Regions from separate parts of the Homo sapiens genome. Here region 1 is linked to region 2. The links are contacts of gene promoters, found by promoter capture Hi-C in blood cells and fetal thymus (Javierre and others, 2016). All regions are on one chromosome and are shown on one strand. The core of a region is centred on a gene start or on the middle of the fragment in contact, and the rest is flanking DNA. Distances in the headings are between cores, read along the strand shown.

Region 1 (7,285 bases), core at 352-2,851, 630 kb after region 2:
CTGCCCTGGGTGTGTGGTCACATGCCGACCAGGAGTGGGGCCGCTGCGACTCAGGGCAGAGCAGCGCCTGGAGGAAGGCCCAGGAGCCGCTTATCTCAGGAACACAGGCAGGAAGAGCACGGACACTTCCTGCGGACCCCGGGCTATCTGGGGCAGTGTCTGCCATGAGGGAGGCTGCAGCCTGTATGTCCTGGGCCTGGCCACAGCCATCCTGCCCTACCCTGCCCCTCCCAGGAACATTTCTGGGGACACCGGGCCTGGGCACTTACCATGAAGTGGTGCAGCAGAGGGGTCTCCTGGGCGGCGTGGCACATACGCTCAGTTCAGCTGCCCCAGGGCAGTGGCGATGGGCATGAGATGGCTGCGGGGGGGCATTGTCCTGAGTGGGAGGGAGACAGTCGAGGCTCAGCCCCATTCGAGCTGGCCTGGGGAAGGAGGGGCGGCGGTGGGGGTGGCGCCCAGGGCCTAGCGACCGGGCTCCCTCACAGCTGGCAGCTTTGTCAATAGTGGCCAGGCCAAGGCAGCCCTGCCTCCACCACAACAATGTTCCCTCTGTCCAGAGGCCAGGCCAGGGCCCCACTCGCTAGTGCTGTCACCCCCACTGGGCTGTTCTGGACAGGGGGCTCCTTGCCACTTCCCACCCTCAGGGAGCCACCCCCGGGATCCGGGGACAAAGGGCCGGGGTTTCCTCCAGCCAGCCCTCCCCCTCTGGCCCTGCAACCCCTGTGTCACTAAGCATGCCCCTCCCTGGCTCCCCGGGTCCCTGTGAAGGGCACGGGGTGGACCTTGGAGCCCCTGCAAATGCCGGCTGGTAGCCTTGGGGCCTGGGTGAAGTGCCAGTCCTGGCCCTCAATGCCTGCCTTTGTCCAAAAGATCTTCCTCCACACCCCCAGCCCAGCCCTGCCCCTGGGGACTGGTGAAGTGGTGCCAGGTACAGCATGGTGGCAGCGAGCAGGACCACGGGAGGAGGCTGCTTGAGATGGGCTGAGGCAGAGGGTCCACAGGCCGGGGCTGTCCACCCCACCCTCTGAAGCACCGTCCTGCTGGCCTAGATGCCATCCATGCAGGGGATGGGGAAGGGAGGGGCACCTAGCAGCTAGACCCCCTGTCACCCTCACAGGCCACCCTGGCCAGTGGCACAGGAGCAGGTGCACTGGGGATGGGGTCTCTGCCTCCCCCACAGCACGGCAGCAGTAGGCTCCAGGGCAAGGTGGCAGTGGGCTGCTGTCACCTGGCTGGGCCAGTTGGGTGGCTGTGGGGGTGGGGAGCCAGGCGGGCAGCCTCTCTACCCTGTACCCTGCCCGAGGCTGGCGTTGGCTTTCCCATTTCGGGGAAGAAACATGGTTCCCCACCTCCTAACCCCAGGGCTACCACTTGGGGGACACCGTGCTCCCAGACACCTAGTGCCGTCGTCAGGCTGGGCCGACACCCGAGCGCTCTTGCCTGACCCCAGCCAGTTGGCCCTGAGACCCTGATGCCTTGCCCTGAGGCTGGTAGCCCCTGCACCCCAAGCCCAAGCCCAAGCCTGCCCCAGCTCTTGCCTACCTGGTGGGCCACCGGCGAGGGCCAAGTAGCAGCTGGCGGTGCCAGGAGCACGTCTCACAGAGCCCCAGCCTCCCTCCCCACAATGCAATCGTGCCCAGTCCGACTCATCCCAACAAGCCCGGCCAGGCAGCCCAGCCTCTCTCCGCCCGCCCCTTTGCCCAATGGCACAGGGCAGGATGTTGCTGCCCTCTGCTGGCCGCAGCGGGCATGATGGAGTACTGACCGTGGGCACCTGGCAGGTGAGAGACGGCAGCGCCCTCCTATTGGGTGGGCATTCCATAACCTGGCACGAAGCACCTACTGGATGCCAGGCTTGGGCTTGGCACTGGCACCATCCAGAAACAAACACAGGTTGGGAAACTGAGGCACAGGAGGTTAGGAAACTTGAATAAAGTCACACAGCTAGTATGTGGCAAGGCTGAGTCAATCACAGGGCCCCTTCACTTAACCGTCAGGCTACATGACCTTGAACCATGAACCTTGGCAGGCGTTGGGCAGGAGATGGAGCTGAGGCCTACCCCAGGCCAGGCCTGGACGTGACATGCCCACGTGGCGTTGAGGAAAAACCAGTGTTTCCCACCGACTGGAACACAAGGTTGGTCAAGGGCCGTCTCCCAGGGTGTGGCGGAGGTCAGCAAATCAGGTGGGGTCTTTGTGGCCAGGCTTGAGAACTTGAACTTGTCTCGCCATGGGCAACTGCAAGCTGGTGGCACTGGGGCAGAGAATGTGGGGAGGCCTGGTCCAGTGGTGGTCATGGGCATGGAGAGAGGCGGGCGCGTTCTAGAGGCGCTCTGGGGAGGCAGCATTCTGAAGACTGTGCGTTGGACCCAGGGCAGGAGGCGAAGGCAGGAGAATCCAGGCGACCCTGGGGCTTTTCTGCTGGGGCACTGTTCCCCCTGTGGCAGGGCCATCCACAGAGGGGCTGGCGGAAGTGGGAGGACGGTAAGACTGAGGGGCCCATGAGGGAGGAGGAAATGGTGATGGGGCTGGGGAGGCCTGGGGGTGAGAAGCTTGGCTCAGGTGGCTGGAGCCCTGGGGGCGGCCAGGGTATAGGGCCAGGTGTTGGCCCTGGAGCTCAAAGGCCCAGCAGACTCGGGGTATGGGTGCTTCCCTGAGCAGCTGTGTCATTCTTTCCAACCTGCATGGAGAGAAATGGGGCACAGAGGTGGGTAACTTGCCCAGGGCCATGACCTGACGTCGTTTCTTCAGAGTGCATTCCACAGAGATGGGATTTGAACCTGGGCATTCTGGCACGGGCCACGCTCTGGACCACTGGGCCCCAGATCCACAGCTTCTCACCTGCAGCCGCTGAGGATGTGGAGGCAGACCAGGCAGGCCCGTGGGAAGGACCACCAAAAAGCGAGTGAGCAGCCGGCGAGGGGTCTCTCCCCAACAGGAAGGCCAGGCAGCCTTGAAGGAGCCAGGGAGGGATTTAGAAGCTCCAGGAGGGGAGGCTTGGGGGAGCCAGCTGGCCTCTCTCCCTCTCCCTGTCCTTCCCCCCATGCCTACCCCAACACACACACACATGTCCTTGCTGGCCCCGGATGAGACAGACGCCTGCAATCTGGCATGGGGAATGGGTTTCTCCTTCCTTTCCACAGAAGAAAATAAATCAGGCTGGGCGTCGTGGCTCCCGCCTGTAATCCCAGCACTTTGGGAGCCTAAGGCAGCAGGATCACTTGGGCCCAGGAGTTCTAGACCAGCATGGGCAACATAGTGAGACCCCCATCTCTATAAAAAAATTTAAAAATTAGCCAGGCATGGTGGTGCGAGCCTGTAGTCCCAGCTACTTGGGAGGCTGAAGTGGGAGGATCGCCTGAGCCTGGGAGTTGGTGCCTGCAGTGAGCCGTGATGGTGCCATTGCACTCTAGCCTGGGTGACAGTGCAAGACTCTGTCTTTAAAAAAAAAAGAAAAGAAAGAAAGAAAAAAGAAAATAAATCCATCCACAGGCAGCACCATTTTCATAAATATGTGTGTATATGGCCTGCATATGCACCTTCTACGCTTTCTGAGCAGATAAGAGGCGTGGCTATGGCAGCCCCTGGTCTGAAGCTGGTGTAACCAGAAAGGATCTAGGCTGGTTTGGGGAACCGGAACATCTTATGTCAGGGGAGTCGTGCTGGATTTATCCTGCAATGGCCGGGTCCCCTCACCAAGGGATGGGAAGGCAGCGTCAACTGATCTGGTGTCGTCTCCTTGCTGTGTGCCAGGCTTCTCAATGCTGGAAGGGGACTCGTTGGGTCAGTGGGACGTGGGCTTCACGTTTGCTGGGCTGAAGACGTAGCTCTCCATGCTGGCATCCCAGCGGACACCCCCACTGCCACTGCTGCACCACGTCTTCACGTACACCAGAGAGCAGACTTGAGAGTTTCTGCGCATACAGTGGGTGTGAAATGGTGCCCTGCTGGGTTTTGAATCGGCATTCCTTGACCACCGGCCATATTGCAGCACTTTTCATTTCTTCTGTCAAATGCCCGTGCATGTCTTGGCTTACACTTTGCAGGTGTTCTGTATTTTCCACACCAATCCCTGGGGTGTATGTCTTCGGCCTACCTGTTACTTGTCTTCTCAGTTTGCTGATGTATCATGTGATAAACAGAAAGTCTTAATTTTAATATCATAGCATTTATCAATCTGATTTCTTTTTTTGAGACGGGGTCTCGCTCTGTCGTGCAGGCTGGGGTGCATTGGCGCAATCATGGCTCACTGAAGCCTCCTGGGCTCAAGTGATCCTCCCACCTTAGCCTCCCAAACACCTGGGACTACAGGCAGGCGCCACAGTGCCTGGCTAATTTTGTAATTTTTTTGTAGAGACAGGGTCTCGCTATGTTGCCCAGGCTGGTCTCAAACTCCTGGACTCAAGCGGCCCTCCCGCCTTGGCTTCCCAAAGTGCTGGCCCGTGAGCCTGTGAGCCACTGCGCCTGGCTACCTTCTTTTGAATTCCCATTCAGACTGTGTGTTGCTGGTACATAGAAAAACAATGGATTTCTATGTATCAAGTAACCTTGTAAACTCTCATATTAAGTCTAATAATTATGTTTGGGTTCTCTTTGTGGATTCTTTTTGATTTTCTGCGTACACAATCCTATCATCTGCAAGTAATGACCATTTTGTTTCTTCTATTCCAGTCTTTTTAGCTTTGATTTCTTTTTTTGAGGCAGAGTCTGGCTCTGTCACCCAGGCTGGAGTATAGTGGCACAATCTTGGCTCACTGCAACCTCCGCCTCCCTGGTTCAAGCAGTTCTCCTGCCTCAGCCTCCCAAGAAGCTGGGACTACAGGCACCCACCACCACGCCTGACTAATTTTTGTATCTTTACCAGACACAGGGTTTCACCATGTTGGCCAGGCTGATCTGGAACTCCTGATCCACCTGCCTTGGCCTCCCAAAGTGCTAGGATTACAGGCGTGAGCCACTGTGCCCGGCTGATTTCGTTTCCTTGCTTTACTTCCCTGGACTTGCTTTCTCTTGCTTTTACTTCCTTTGAATGAAAGCATAGGAGGCGCTGGGCATGGTGGCTCACGCCTGTAATCCCAGCACTTTGGGAGGCCGAGGTGGGTGGATCACCTGAGGTCAGGAGTTCGAGACCAGCCTGACCAACATGGAGAAACTCTGTCTCTACTAAAAATACAAAAAAATTAGCCGAGCATGGTGGCCCATGCTTGTAATCCCAGCTACTTGGGAGGCTGAGGCAGGAGACTCGCTTGAACCCAGGAGGCCGAGGTTGCGGTGAGCCAAGATCGAGCCATTGCACTCCAGCCTGGGCAACAAAAGCGAAACTCTGTCTCAAAAAAAAAAAAAAAAAAAAAAAAAAAGCATAGGAGGCATTCTCAGTGTTCCATTATTAAGTATGATGTTTGCAGGGAGCATTCGGTAGATATGTTTATCAGATTTAGAAAGCTCCCTCCCATTCCTAGTGTGCTATATGTTGAATTTTTATAAAATGCTTTTTCTGAATGCATTAATATGATCACAGGGTTTTCCTCCTCTAATCTGTTAATGTGGCAAATTACATTAATTCATTTTTAAATGTTAAACCACTCTTGTATTTTCTGGACTAAACTCAACTTTGCGTGATGTATTTTTTTCATATACAATTCTGGATTGGGTGGTTTTTTTTTTTTTTTTTAGCCTCGTATTATTATCCTCGTCTGGTTTTGGTATCAAGACATCGTAAAGTGAGTTGAGGCAGTATTTCCTTTTTCAGCTGTTCACTGGAACAGTTAGTCTAAGATGGAGATGATCAGTTACTTCCATGTTTGCTGGAGATCATCTGTAAAACCATCTAGGCCTTCCTTGTTTTTTATTTTCTGTTTTTTGTTTTGTTTCTTTTCTTTTCTCTTCTTTGTTTTTTTTGTTTTGTTTTGTTTTGTTTTGTTGTTGTTTTGAGACAGAGTCTCACTCTGTTGCCCAGGCTGGAGTGCAGTGGTACAGTCTTGGCTTACTGCAACCTCTGCCTCCTGGGTGCAAGCGATTCTCCTGCCTCAGCCTCCCGAGTAGCTGGGACTGCAGGCATGCACCACCACGTCCAGCTAAGTTTTGTATTTTTAGTAGAGACGGTGTTTCGCCATGTTGGCCAGTCTGGTCTTGAACTCCTGACCTCAGGTGATCTGCCTGCCTCGGCCTCACAAAGTGCTGGGATTACAGGCATGAGCCACCGCATCTGGCCTGGCCTTCCTTGTTTTTGTAGCTTCCTGCCTGTCCCCCTATAGATTTTAAACAATGAATCCAACTTCTGTAATAATTATGGGACCATTTAGGTTTTCTGTTTCTTCTTGAGTAATTTTTTTATTGTGGGAAAAAATACATAACACAAAATTTGCCATCTTTTTTTTTTTTTTTTTTGAGACAGGTCTTGCTCTGTTGCCCAGGCTGGGGTGCAGTGGCATAATCATTGTAACCTCAAACTCCTGGTCTCAAGCAATTCTCCTGCCTCAGCCTCCTGGGTAGCTGGGACTATAGGCATTCACCACCATGCCCAGCTAATTTTTAATTTAATTTTTTTTTTTGAGACAGATCTCACTTTGTCACCCAGGCTGGAGTACAGTGGCGTGATCTCAGCTCACTGCAACCTCTGCCTCCCGGGTTCAAGCAATTTTTGTGCTTCAGCCTCAAATTTTTAATGTTTTTGGTAGAGATGGGATCTTGTTACTTTGCCCAGGCTGGTCTCCCATTCCCAGACTCAATCAATCCTCCTACCTTGGCTTCCCAAAGCACTGGGATTACAGGTGTGAGCCACCATGCCCAGCCTCCAACTTTATTCTTTTGCATGTGGATATCAAGTTTCCCCTATACCATTTGTTGAAAAGACTGCCCTTTTCCCAATTTGTAGCCTTGATACCCTTGTCAAAAATCATCTGACCATATACTTGAGAGTTTCTTTCTGGGCTCTGGATTATATTCTGTCTCTGTCTTTATGCCAGGACCACACTGTAATATGTTTTATTTTGTAAATCAGGAAGTGTGAGTCCTCGAACTTTGTTCTCCTTTTTCAGAATTGTTTTGGTTATTTGGAGCCCCTTGAGATTCTATCTGAATTTAGGATGAATCATTCTATTTTGAGTCAATTTTTGATAAACAATATTTTTCTAGGAACATGCTTTTTTTTTTTTTTTTTTAGACAGAATCTAGCTCTGTCGCCCGGGCTGGAGTGCAGTGGCATGATCTTGGCTCACTGCAACCTTTGCCTCCTGGGTTCAAGCAATCCTCCTGCCTCAGCCTCTCGAGTAGCTGGGATTAC
Region 2 (7,607 bases), core at 26-2,525:
GGTTGAGGGAGCACGGAGGAAGGACTGGGGGGTGACGAACAAAGAATCCTGCCTTACCTTCAGAGGACAGCTGCTCATATTCATCTGACACCATGTGGCCACAAAGCGGAAACTCATCCACTTTTGCCTTTTTCCGCCCCAGGTCAAAAATGCGAATCTTGGCATCTAAAAGGATTGGGTAAGTGTGCAGGGGGTGTCACAGACGGACGCGGAGTCCGCAGAGCCAACCAGTGCAGGGGCTCTTCCACTACTTACCAGGGACACCTCGGCAGAAGCGAGACTTTGGGTACGGCTTGTTCTTACAATACCGGTAACTGCAGGGGAGTGAAAAAACACAGGTTAGGTGAGGTTCACAGAAAGCCCAACAGGCACTTTGCCCCTCAAGGAACAACCCAAACGAGGGACGGGAAAAGGGTGGGGAATGCACGTCCACTTCTAAACCGTTTCCATTCGGGGAAATAAACTACAAAGCAACAGTTGGCTGCTGCAACACAGACAACACCCAAGACTAGAAACAACAGACACCATCTTCCGTTACTTTGTCTTACGCTTCCTATAAACACTTTGCAACAAACTTTCCTAGTTAAAAATTCTCTCTTCAAGACACTGCGTACTACAAAATCGCCGCATTATCATTGCACAGCTCAGGTCACCCAATTTAAGACTTTCGGGCACGTGGCACTAAATCCACCTCCAAGCCGAGTGGAAATGCGTCTGGCGCCCCCTGTAGGACACAGGAGGCGGCCGCACCCGTTTTTCCCGGACTGCCCTTCACGTCCGACAACGCACGCGGCACGTCGCCCGGAAATAAGACAGAGAACGCACACAAAGGCCCCAAGAGCGTATCTAGCGCCCGAAAATGCGGTGAGCTTGCAGGACACAGGCAGAGATACGAGGGAACCGTCGCTTCCACACCGACACGGGAACGAAGGAACAGACAGTAATATTGCAGACTAAAAAATAGCCGGGAGGTGTAAAACATAGGGTCAGTTCCCAAGACAGGGCCGCCGCACGGGGGAGGCTCCACCCCACAATTGTTTTCAGCGGCCATAGGCACTTCTTTCCCCGCCCGTTTCCCAGCAGTGAAAGTACACGGATTCAAGACTCACCAACGGGCGGGGCGGCGGCCCATGGCGACACCAGGATCTTCAGTGGCTGCAACGAAAAAGAGAGAGTCGGAACGGAAGACGAGAACAGACCTAAAAGGTGTGAGAACCAGCAACGGCACCGCAAGAGACGACAACTGCGCTTACTCACCACACCGAAGGGAAAGAGGCGCTCCTCCGCCTGCGCATGGCTTATATAGGCGGTCTGTCTGCGCGCGTAAGAACCATAGAGTCCTGTCGAAGACGGGTGGACGCTCTGTCAGACGTCATGACCATAGACGCAGCCGCTCTTGGCGCTTGCGCCCGGGCGTAGCCCAGCACATGCGCAGATCAGAGAGGTGACCGGGTACCAGGGCCGCGGGCGGCCAGCTGACGAATGGGGCTTCGCCACATGGTCGCGAGAAGCCCGCTTCCGGCTGGCCATCTTGGGCGTAGAACTCTTGCCCTAGGCTTTGCCGTTAACTGTGACAGACGTATATTTCTGAGAGTGGAAAAAAGGAAAGTACCCTAGGTGGGCCTCCCGGCGACCGCGAGAGTGTCCCTGAGCTTGCACGGGTCTCGGACACGCGCTCCGTGCCTCCTTCTAGGCTAGAGGCCCCGGCGGTGAAGCGCCATACGGGGATCTGGGCCCGCGTTCCTTTGTCAACCCGGGAGGCCGGAGGGGGAGACCCATTCCCCTACCGGAGAGGCTGGACCAGGCCTTGCTGGGAGCCATGCCCCGTATCCCCGTTTCCTGGAGACCCAGGGTTCGCACATTGCCGCGGGGAAGAGGTCGAGGAGAAATCTCCACGGAGACTCATGGCCTGGGAAACCCCGGGGCATCTCTAGCCCCGCTCCGCCCACCCTGACCCGCACCGTCCCGACCAGCTGCGTCTCGGGCGCCGCCTCCCATGAGCCGCTCTCGCCTGGGCACCGCCCCACCTCGCCCTTCCCACTCCACTGTGCTCAAGAGTCCCTCCGGGTGCGTCTGGGGGTCGTGGGGAAGCAGGGCCGCCCCCACCCGCCCACGGGGCAGCATCCGGGGAGAGGTGCGCAGAGCAGGCGGGCGTCCTGGGGGAAGTGGCATCTGGAGGTATCTGTCCACCATTCTGCAGGTGGGGCGCGGTGGGGTAACAAAGTCTTCCCGTCCTTTGACAGGAAGGACGGGAGGAAATCCTGCTCGAGCGCACCTGTTTTCCAGGATGATATGTCGCTTTTATAAATGGCTGCAGGTCCCTTTGAGAAAAGCTTGGGACGATTTCTGGGGTGCACTTGCAGCAGTGGTGCAAGGTCCTTCCCAGGGGAACCTAGCCTCCCTTTCCATCATGGGACTCTGGATGCCGGCGGTGACTTAGGTCTGGAAACTGGGTTCGAGGCTGTAACACCACTGGGGCAGTACAAGTCAGGAATTGCGGCGGAGTGCCGTGGCTCACGCCTGTGATCTCAGCACTTTGAGGGGCGGAGGTGGGCGGATCACTTGAGCCCAGGAATTTGAGACCTGGACAACATGGCGAAAAACCGCCTCTACAAAAATTAAAAACTAAAAATTGGCTGGGCGCAGTGGCTCACGCCTGTAATTCCAGCACTTTGGGAGGCCGAGGCGGGCGGATCATGAGGTCAGCAGATCGAGACCAGCCTGGCCAACATGGTGAAACCCCGTCTCTACTAAAAATACAAAAATTAGCTGGGCATGCTGGCTGGTGCCTGTAATCCCAGCTGCTTCGGAGGCTGAGGCAGGAGAATCGCTTGAACCCGGGAGGCGGAGGTTGCAGTGAGCCGAGACCACGCCATTGCACTCCAGCCTGGGTGACAGAGCGAGACTCCGTCTCAGAAAAAAAAAAAAAAAAAAAAAAATATATATATATATATATATTTAAAAATTAGCCAGGCGTGGCGGCACACTCTAATCCCAGCTGAGGTGGGAGGATCGCTTGAGCTCAGGACGCAGAGATTGCAGTGAGCTGAGATCACACCACTGTACTCCAGCCTGGGCGACAGAGCAAGACTGTCTCAAAAAAATTCGTGTATGGCCGGGCGCTGTGGCTCACGCCTGTAATCCGAGCGCTTTGGGAGGCCGAGGCGGGCGGATTACCTGAGGTCAGGAGTTCAAGGCCAACCTGGCCAACATGGTGAAACCCTGTCTACTAAAAATACAAAAATGAGCCGGGTGTGGTGGCACACACCTGTAATACTAGCTACTTGGGAGGCTGAGGCAGGAGAATTGCTTGAGCCCGGAAGACAGAGGTTGCAGTGAGCCGAGATCATGCCACTGCACTCCAGCCTAGTCTACAGAGAGAAACTATCTCAGAAAAAAAAAAAAAAATCTGCCTACAGGGCGGGTGCAGTGGCTCACGCCTATAATCCCAGCACTTTGGGAGGCTGAGGTGGGTGGATCAATTGAGGTCAGGAGTTGGAGACCAGCCTGGCCAACAGGGTGAAACCACGTCTCTACTAAAAATATAAAAAAATTAGCTGGGCATGGTGGCGCATGCCTGTAATCTCAGCTACTCGGGAGGCTGAGGCAGGAGAATCTGGCTTGAACCTGGGAGGTGGAGGTTTGAGTGAGCCAAGATCACACCACTGCACTCCAGCCTGGGACCACAGAGCAAGACTCATCTGTCTCAGAAAAAAAAGAAAAAAGAAATTGCACCTACAGTCTCCTCACTCTCTAGTGGGCGTTAAAATGAGCTTTCTGTAGCCAGTTTGGGCAGACGGAGGATACAGCCTAATCCTGGGTGCCCTAGTAGGTCGTGCAGGCTGTTCTCTGCACAAGGACATCTTCCTGGGGAGCGAGAGGGCTGAAATCCCTCCCGTGTCCTCGCCTCCAGCCGAGTACCTGCCCCGAGAGCAGAGTGCCTCTTGCTGATCCGCACATAAGCCTGCAGGGGTGGGTGGGGGCCCTGGAGCCCAGACAGGCACCAAGGAATCTTGCAGCCCTACAAGGTGAGGACGGGGGAACTGTCGGAGTTCCACCTGTTGGCTCCTCTCCCTCCTGACCTTCCCACGGGAATCCTTCCAACTGTTGGCTCAAAGAAATTGAAGTGGGTTTCTCCATTGCTACCCTCGCCATCTAGGACTCCACTGTCTTTTTTTTTTTTTTTTTTTTTTTTCTGAGATGGAGTTTCGCTCTTGTTGCCCAGGCTGGAGTGCCATGGCACGATCTCAGCTCAGTGCAACCTCTGCCTCCCGGGTTCAAGCAATTCTCCTGCCTCAGCCTCCCGAGTAGCTGGGATCACAGGCATGTGCCACCATGCCTGGCTTATTTTGTATTTTTAGTAGAGACAGGGTTTCTCCGTGTGGTCAGGCTGGTCTCAAACTCCTGACCTCAGGTGATCTGCCCGCCTCAGCCTCCCAATGTGCTGGAATTACAGGTGTGAGCCACCACGCCCGGCTTTTTTTTTTTTTTAATTGAGACAGGGTCTTGCTCCGTTGCCCAGACTGGAATGCAGTGGCATGATCAACACTCACTGCAGCCTCGAACTCCTGGGCTCCAGAGATGCTCCTGCCTCAGCCTCCCAATCGGCTGGGACTACAGGCACACGCCACCATGCCTGGATAATTTTTTTTTTCTTTTGTAGAGATGGGGCCTTATTAGGTTGCCCAGACTGGTCTTGAACTGCTGGAGCCAAGTGATCCTCCTGCCCTAACCCTAACCCAAAGTGCGGGGATTACAGGCAGGAGCCAACGTGCTTGGCCAGACTCCATGGTCTCTTACCTGGACCAGGACGATGGCCCCACCCAGGCCCTCAGAACTGTGGGATGAGGTGTTTGCTTCTGGCTCACCCACGAGAAAGAAACTCCCGGAAGGAAGGGACCGTGTCTGGAGCGCTCCAACTCCAGGCCCCAGACTGCAGGTATCCCTTGCCAACAGAGCTGAGGCCAGCAGGGGAAACCATTCCTGCCACCTGGACTAAGAATGAGATCCTCTTGAAAAAAACAATATTAAGAAGTGGGCTCTTCCCATCACGCCACCAGAGTCCCAGGAAGCCAGGGATGTGGGTGTCTAATGGTCCGGGACAAGATGATGGGAAACTTCACATGGAGAAGAAAATGCCCAAGAATGACTGAAACTGTCTGCAAGGTCCTGCTAAGGGAGCTGGCAGGTGCACCAGGTATGGCGAGATGCAAAGCAAGGAGCCCACTGCATCGTTCCCTGGAAGGACAAGTGCAGAGGAGACCACAGATGCCTGCGCATTTAGCGGGAGTATGGCAGTGCCATCATGGGGGAAAGGCTGTGTGACAAATGGTATGGAGGAGACTGACTGTCCCTTAGAAAATGGGAAAGGAGCCAGGCGCGGTGGCTCACGCCTGTCATCCCAGCACTGTGGGAGGCCGAGGCGGGGGGATCACTTGAGGTCCGGAGTTCAAGACCAGCCTGGCCAACACGGTGAAACCCCGTCTCTACTAAAAATGCAAAAACTAGCCAGGCATGCTGGCGTGCGCCTTTAGTCCCAGCTACTCGGTAGGCTGAGATGGGAGAATTGCTTAAACCCAGGAGGTGAATGTTGCAGTGAGCCGAGATCGCGCCACTACACTCCAGCCTGGGTGACAGAGTGAGACTCTTTCAAAAAAAAAAAAAAAAAAAGAACAGAACAAACATAAGAAAATGAAACATCAGTGTTCTTGAACCCAGCAATCCTACCCCTTGATAACCTCAGCAAGAGCAATTCTCCCTTCTCGCTAAGGCCACATTCCGTGCCATGGCCTTCGTGGCATGGTTTGTGGCACACCAGGAGCTGAAGCCCTGGGGTTGCATCACTCAGGGTGGGAATGATCAAATGTGTTGCATCCAAGCTCTGAAATCCTCTGCAGGAGCACAGGAGTCAACTGTACGTCTCCAGGGCCACAGACAAAGAGCTGAGAAACCCTGTTGAATGACGGAAGCAGTCAGCAGAATAGGAATGCAGCACAGGGACAGTTACGGTGGGCAAAACCATACACACAAAAAATCCACAGGTGCAGGGCAGTGGCTCACGCCTGTCATCCAAGCACTTTGGGAGGCCGAGACGGGCAGATCGCTTGAAGCCAGAAATAGGAGACCAACCTGGGCAACAGGGTGAGACCTCGTCTCTACAAAAAAATAAAATTAGCTGGCGTGGTGGCACATGCCTGTAGTCCTAGTTACTCCAGAAGCTGAGGTGGGAGGATCACTTGAGTCTGGGACATCAAGGCTGCCGTGAGCTATGATCACACCACTGCACTCCAGCCTGGGTGACAAAGCGAGGCCCTGTCTCAGAAAACTAAAATACAATTGAACAAACACATTCCAAATGACACCACATTTTAAATGACCCCTTTGGGAGGGAGGGGAACAGGACTAGGAAACAGGGAAGAAGGAAAAAGCGAAAAGCTACAGTTCTCCCATCTAATTTTCAGCTACCTAAAAAGCTGTTAGCCCAAAAGGTGCTGGTGAGGCTGTGGGTAAACGCTGAGGGTACAATGCGAGGGACGGACAGTATCAAAGGTAGGGTCTTTAGGGGAGGCAATTCCCTAGTGTCTCTTACAATTTTAAATGCAGGCCACACAAGGTGGGACACATCTGTAAAACCAGCACTTTGAGAGGCCAAGGAGGGAGGACTTGAGCCCAGGGGTTCAAGACCAGCCTGGGCAACACAGTGAGACCCTGTCTGTACAAAAAGAAGTTTTCTAAAAAAGCCAGGGATGGTGGCACACACTTGTGGTCCCAGCAGCTCAGGAGGCTGAAACAGGAAGATCACTTGAGCCCAGGAGGTTGAGGCGGTGGTGAGCTGTGATCGAGCCACTCCACTCCAGCCTGAGCGACAGACTGAGATCCTGTCTCAAAAAAAAAAAAAAATTTTTTTTTTAATGTACATATATCTCGACCCAGCAATTCCACTTACAGGTAATTATTCTAGAGAGAGATGGATGCACGTTCAAGGCTGTGTTCATAGTAAATGCAAGGTAGAAATAATAATGCTTTAAAAGTACATCAAATGGAGGCCCGGTGCAGTGGCACATGCCTGTAATCCCAGGTACTCGGGAGGCTGAGGCAGGAGAATCACTTGAGCCCAGGAGGTGGAGGTTGTGGTGAGCTGAGATCACGCCATTGCACTCCAGCCTGGGCAACATGAGTGAAACTCTCTGTCTCAAAAAAAGAAAAAAAAAAGTTTAAAGTACATCAGGCCGGGCGCGGTGGCTCATGCCTGTAATCCCAGCACTTTGGGAGGCCGAGGCTGGTGCATCACTGAGGTCAGGAATTTGAGACCAGCCTGACCAACCCAGGTGAGAGGTGAGAGGATCCCTTCAGCCTGGGAGGCAAAGGTTGCAATGAGCCGAGATGGTGCCATTGCACTCAGCCTGGGCGACAAGAGTGAGACTCTATCTCAAAAACAAAAAAGTTGAAATTATAAAAAAGCTAAAACAAACAAAACAAAATCACTACAAAACGTGTAGCATAACGGTTTTTTTTTGTTTTTGTTTTTCAGACGGAGTCTCACTGTGTCACCCAGGCTGGAGTGCAGTGGTGCGATCTCGGCTTGCTGCAACCTTCACCTCCCGGGT

The links. The method cuts DNA at HindIII sites, captures the fragments that hold promoters and counts their contacts. A CHiCAGO score of 5 or more calls a contact.
Region 1: the fragment with the promoter of PLXNB3 here is called in contact with the fragment with the promoter of RPL10 in region 2 in 2 of 17 cell types (total CD8 T cells and non-activated CD4 T cells); the score reaches 5.6 in total CD8 T cells.

What each region holds. Positions count from the first base shown.
Region 1 is chrX:153,758,565-153,765,849 of GRCh38, reverse strand. PLXNB3 (plexin B3) reads right to left here and starts at 1,601. Exons shown (of 36, transcript NM_005393.3): 1 at 1,546-1,601; 2 at 270-379. The coding sequence starts at 314. It overlaps PLXNB3-AS1 (PLXNB3 antisense RNA 1), which reads left to right. Exons shown (of 3, transcript NR_199696.1): 2 at 2,001-2,140. The HindIII fragment of the contact is 7,823 bases long and covers 1-2,557 here.
Region 2 is chrX:154,392,045-154,399,651 of GRCh38, reverse strand. It overlaps RPL10 (ribosomal protein L10), which reads right to left and starts at 1,275. Exons shown (of 7, transcript NM_006013.5): 1 at 1,258-1,275; 2 at 1,110-1,155; 3 at 256-314; 4 at 58-165. The coding sequence starts at 1,132. It overlaps LOC124905228 (a long non-coding RNA gene), which reads left to right and starts at 810. Exons shown (of 2, transcript XR_007068356.1): 1 at 810-2,067; 2 at 7,532-7,607. RefSeq lists enhancers at 1-274, 275-820, 1,143-1,352, 1,365-1,910 and silencers at 1,913-1,982, 2,053-2,232. The HindIII fragment of the contact is 9,726 bases long and covers 1-2,335 here.